Regions from separate parts of the Homo sapiens genome. Here region 2 is linked to region 1. The links are contacts of gene promoters, found by promoter capture Hi-C in human tissues and cell types (Jung and others, 2019). All regions are on one chromosome and are shown on one strand. The core of a region is centred on a gene start or on the middle of the fragment in contact, and the rest is flanking DNA. Distances in the headings are between cores, read along the strand shown. Region 1 holds the start of GDPD1 (glycerophosphodiester phosphodiesterase domain containing 1). Region 2 overlaps LINC01476 (long intergenic non-protein coding RNA 1476).

Region 1 (2,700 bases), core at 21-2,520:
AAGCAAATTTTAAACCGGTTTAAGATTCAGCCTTAAAGAACAGTTAAAATTGATTGAAAATAATCCAATTTCACCGCACTTTATACATCATAGTTGAAATGCAATGAAGACACATTATTACACAATAATGAAGAAGCAAAGATTTGGCCTGTTATCTGGGAAATTAGAGGGTGGACTACCTGGGCTCCTTTTAGCAAAACACTTTTCCAAAAGAAACTTATTTTTGTTTTCTTTAAACAATACTGTCCTGTCCTAAACGAAATCATTTTTAGTCTGTTGAAAATCCACGTGTCTTTGCGTGTTTATTTATTTATTTATTTATTTATTTATTTATTGCAGTGTTCAAAAAAAAAAAAAAAAAGATGCAAGGTTTCCAGCCCTGAGGACCAGGACGCTGTAGCTCCTGTCTCAGTTCAGCCCTAGCTCTAATTGTGACCTTGGGAAATGTCCCTGGCTCGGGGGACTCGGTTTCCCTCTCTTCTCAATTATGAGTGCTCGGAACGTGGGGGTGGGACGGGCCCCCAGCACCGCAGACAAGGGGTTACAGCTCGTCCAGCTTCATGCAAATCCCCAGCCCTCCTCGTCGCCTCGGCTCTTCCCATCCACTCAGCCACTAGCTCGCTCGGAGCAGTGTGCTCCCGGTGCCCCCCGCGGGGTACCCTCGGTTCTGCACGGCGCTCCCCCTTTGTGTCTTGCTGCTAGGAAGGGACCTTGCGATCATCCTTCCATCCGCCGAGAAACGCTCCACCTACCCTTCATTCTCGACCGTGTCTTTCCCGTTTCAGAGAACCCCTCACACTGCTGCCCTCGAGAGACCCCCGCCGTGGCTCTGACCGGGAATCCCTCTCCTTCCCTCCCCTCAGGAGACCTTCCCTTCACACAGCCTTCACCTCCGGAAGAGCCCTCAATTCACACAACCCCATTCTTCCTCAAACTCTCAGGGATTGGCACCCGGCTGCCTTTTGCGGAGCCGCAAAGGACCCTCAGCCTCCCCCACCTCCGTCATCGGGTTCTGGGGACCCCTCTCACCTCCGCGGTGAGAGATGTGTTTACTGAGGAATCGCTGCTTCTTTCTCTGGTGCAGCAAGGTCGGGTATTTAAGCAACAAGAATGAGGTCACCAAGTATCCTCCTAGCGTAGAGAGAAGGTAAAAAGCCGCAGTGGACGACATCTCAGTCACCGTGTGGGAAGTCTCCCACCTCCGGGCCCTCTGAACTCCGCTGCGGCAGTAGCAACGACGGCGGCGGCGGCGGCTGCTCGAGGTCGGCTCGCCCCCAGCCGGTGCCACTGGTGCAGCGCACTTGTCGGTGCCGGCCTACTGCGCACGCGCAGCTGGACCCCAGCGCCCCAGCAACAAAGAGGCTCCGACGCGCAGGCGCTCTCCGGCTCCCGTGTAGGAACCTGCAGAGATCCTGGACTGAGCGTTTGTCACCTAGCTCTGTGGACGGACCCTCATGAAGAGAAAGCTTGCAAACCTGCCAGTGTGTTGGCCATCACTCAAGCAGAAAAGACTATTCACGGGCAGCCTTTCCTAATTGGAAAATCCACATCAAAAAGGAAAGATTCCAGGGCGCGTCTTATCCCTTGCTCTAGAAAATGCAAATAATTTGTACCTATGGAGGCGATAAAGCTTGCTAAAACACTAAATAAACTCCTCCGTTTATCTAGCCTAGAGAGAATTTCCCCTATGGTCGCATATACTAGAAAAGGTACTGGTTTATCAGTCAAATATCTGAGAGATCGGCCCCTGTCCTCCCTCATTTCATTGTGAAAGTGCAATCCTCATTCTTTGTACACAATAGGCACTGTAGAAGTATTTGTTGACTTACAAGTCCGTATAAAATAAGGAAACTTTGTTAAGGTTATAAGGTATTACCTAAAAGTCCTAGAAAGACAGATAACTAAGTTCCAGAAGGCCCTACTAGTTTTCCTTTTACCCGACAAATTACAAACTGCTAACACACGAAAAGCCACACACTTCAATGCAAAAGAAATAAATCACCCAGGACTGAGGGAGAAATTTTACGGAGAAGACCATATCTCCCACAGGACTAGAAAAGCAGAGTGAATATTTAAAATCCTGATTCAGCCGGGCGCGGTGGCCCACGCCTGTAATCCCAGCACTTAGGGAGGCCGGGAAGGAAGGGTGGATCGCTTGAGCCCGGGAGTTCGAGACCAGCCTGGGCAACATGGCGAAACCCCATCTCTACAAAAAATAAAACAAAATAAGCCCGGCGTGGTGGCGTGCACCTGTAGTCACGCTACTTGGGAGGCTGAAGTGGGAGTATTGCTTGAGCCTGGAAAATCGAGGCTGCAGTGAGCTATGACTGCACCACTGCACCCCAGCCTGGGCGACAGAGCAAGACCCTATCTCAACTATAAAAAGAAAATTAGAAGAAAATAGGGGGTGGCTGGGCACGGTGGCTCAAGCCTGTAATCCCAGCACTTTGGGAGGCTGAGGCGGGCAGATCATTTGAAGTCAGGAGCCTGGCCAACATGGCGAAATTCCATCTCTACTAAAAATACAAAAATTTGCCAGGGGTGGTGGCGTGTGCCTGTGATCCCAGCTACTCAGGAGGCCGAGGCAGGAGAATCTCTTGGACCCGGGAGGCAGAGGTTGCAATGAGCCGAGAAGGCGCCACTGCACTCCAGCCTGGGTGACAGAGCGAGACTCCGTCTCAAAAAAAAAAAAAAAAAAAA
Region 2 (2,744 bases), core at 197-2,696, 300 kb before region 1:
TTTCTCACTTAGCTGACTCATAAAGTTGACAATAACTCCTATCTACAATAGCTATACCAAAAAAGTCCACGATAAATTCAGCCTTCTTCTTAAAGGAAAAGCAGAATACTGTAAATTTTATTCAGAACTTATATTTTTAAACTTCATTAATTGTACACAATAAATTGAAGTGACGATATTTATATAATATAGATTTCAAGATTATCTTCTCAGCACGTATGAAGATTTATTATGATGTTTTCATTATAGCTATGCACCTACTTACATTAAAAATTAATGTATCACAGCAGTGTCTTTCAGGCAGTAGTTAAAATAAAGAGAAATTCTCCACTAGATAGGATAAATACTAACAAGAGGTTGCTGCAAACCCCAAAGTGCAATTTTTTTTTTTTTGAGATGGAGTCTTCCTCTGTTGCCCAGGCTGGAGTGAAGTGGCGTGATCTCGGCTCACTGCAACCTCTGCCTCCCAGGTTCAAGTGATTCTCCTGCCTCAACCTCCCAAGTAGCTGGGACTACAGGTGCACACCACCACGCCCGGCTAGTTTGTATTTTTAGTAGAGAAAGGGTTTCACCATGTTGGCCAGGATGGTCTCGATCTCTTGACCTCGTGATCCACCTGCCTCAGCCTCCCAAAGTGCTGGGATTACAGGCATGAGCCAATGCACCCGGCCTGATGATTGGGTGTCTTAATTTTTACCTGGGAGGCTAGAGTCACTCGTGTGACTACATCAGGGTGGCTATTTGGTTATTTTCGTGATTGTTTAATGTCTTTGTCTGTGTTCATGTTCAGATTGAGTAAGTTGCAATCTTGTTATTGTCTTGTTCCACCATGGTTACGGAGGGACCTTGTCTGATTATTGTTGTTATTCTGTGAAAACTGCTTATCTTGCGTGAGGGAACGCTAGATAGCCGCCAGCTGCAGGCTGTCAGGGTCATCCTGTTGTGTATCACATTCTCAACCCGCTATTAAGCTTGGACTCTGACATGTGCTTGTTTCCACATAGGACTTTACGAAACCCAGGTCACAACGTGTGACCAAGAGTTGGGAAGAGGGATAGTCCCCCTGTTTCTGTAGAGTTTCCATGCAATGACTGAGAGTTTGCTGCTTCAGGAATGCTCTGGGCCTGATGGCAGCATCCTCTTCAGGGCTGGGGTCGGGGGTGAGAGGGAGCTGCTGCCCTCCAGTGGCTGTCTAGGAAATTACATCAGTGACTCTTCCCCCAAATCATGCTTAGATTTTCTGGGAACTTCCCCGAACGTGGCAAGGCAGAGCAGAAGGAAAGAAGATTCGCCTGGGAGTAAAAGCCAGCAACTTTTGGGTATTACTGTTAATATGGCCCCATGAGTACTCTCAACTTGGTGAAGCCTGGAAAAATGGAGATTATGTGACTTGTAGGTTTTTGATAATTATATATTGTGTTGCTTTTATAATCAAAGAAGGTATCTGTTGAAGATAGAAGAATAAGAACTTAAATATTTGTGGCCAGGCACGGAGGCCCATGCCTGTAATCCCAGCACTTCTGGAGTCCAAGGTGGGAGGATCGCTTGAGGCTGGGAGTTTCAGACCAGCCTGGGCAACAAAGCAAAACCCCACCTCTAAGGAAATTCTTTTTTAAAAATTAGATGGACATGGTGGTGCATATCTGTAGTCCTAGCTACTTGGTAGGCTGAGGCAGAAGGATCTCTTAAACCCAGGAGTTCAAGGCTGTAGTGAGCTATGATCATACCACGGGACTTCAGCCTGGATGACCGAGCAAGACCTTGTCTCTCTATAAAAGGACCATGCAACTTAGAAATACAGCATAATTAAAGATAAGAGGGTTAGAAAAGTTTTTACTATCAAGGGTTACATAAATAAAGATTAAAATTTCACTTAAGTTGGAGAGGATGCTGAGAAATTGGAATCATTGTGCATTGCTGATGGGAATGTAAAAATGTGAAGCTGCTGTGGAAAACTATGTCAGTTCCTCAAAAAATTAAACACAGGATTATCATATGATCCAGCAATTTCACTTCTAGGTATATGGCCAAAAAAATTGGGAGCAGGGATTCAAACCGACATCTATGTTCATGGAGGCATTATTCACTGTAGCCAAAAAGTGGAAATAATCAAAATGTCCATCGACAGATGAATGGATAAATAAAATGTGGTATATCTATCTATTCAATGGAATATTATTCTGCCTTTTCAGAGGAAGAAAATTCTGGTACTTACTACAACATGGATGAGTCTTGAAGACATTATGCTAAGTGAAATAAGCATAAGCAAAAGGACAAATAGTGTATGATTCCATTTATATGCGCTACCTAGCACGGTCGAATTCATAGAGACAGGAAGTAGAATGGTGGCTGTCAAGGGATGGGGAGGGGAGAATAGGGAGTTACTGATTAATGGGTATGGAGTTTCTATTTGGGAAAATGAAGGAAGTTCTGGAGATGGGTGGTGGTGACGGTTGCACAACAATGTAAGTGCACTTAATAACGCTGAAGTGTATACTTACAAATGATTAATATAGTAAATTGTATGTTTTGTATATTTTGCCACAATTAAAAAAACAAAAACAAAAAAACCCTGATTCTGAGCCCTAAGCCAAACCAATTGAGTTGGGGAGAACAAAGGGGGAACAAGGGGTCAGGGTCTGAGTGCAGGCTTTTTAAAAAACTTCTCAGCCAGGCACGGTGGCTCACGCCTGTAATCCCCGAATTTTGGGAGGCAGAAGTGGGTGAATCACCTGAGGTTAGGA

Evidence for each region. The method cuts DNA at HindIII sites, captures the fragments that hold promoters and counts their contacts. A contact is called where the count stands out against the background at its distance.
Region 2: a contact is called between a fragment that was not itself captured here and the fragment with the promoter of GDPD1 in region 1, in 1 of the 25 tissues and cell types used here (bladder).

The regions. Positions count from the first base shown.
Region 1 is chr17:59,219,081-59,221,780 of GRCh38, reverse strand. It overlaps GDPD1 (glycerophosphodiester phosphodiesterase domain containing 1), which reads right to left and starts at 1,270. Exons shown (of 10, transcript NM_182569.4): 1 at 1,030-1,270. The coding sequence starts at 1,171. RefSeq lists an enhancer at 694-1,244. The HindIII fragment of the contact is 11,394 bases long and covers 1-2,700 here.
Region 2 is chr17:59,520,112-59,522,855 of GRCh38, reverse strand. The region is part of intron 1 of LINC01476 (long intergenic non-protein coding RNA 1476); the gene reads left to right. Among named protein-coding and RNA genes, the nearest start is that of LINC01476, 5.4 kb to the left of the region's middle. The HindIII fragment of the contact is 4,297 bases long and covers 1-2,744 here.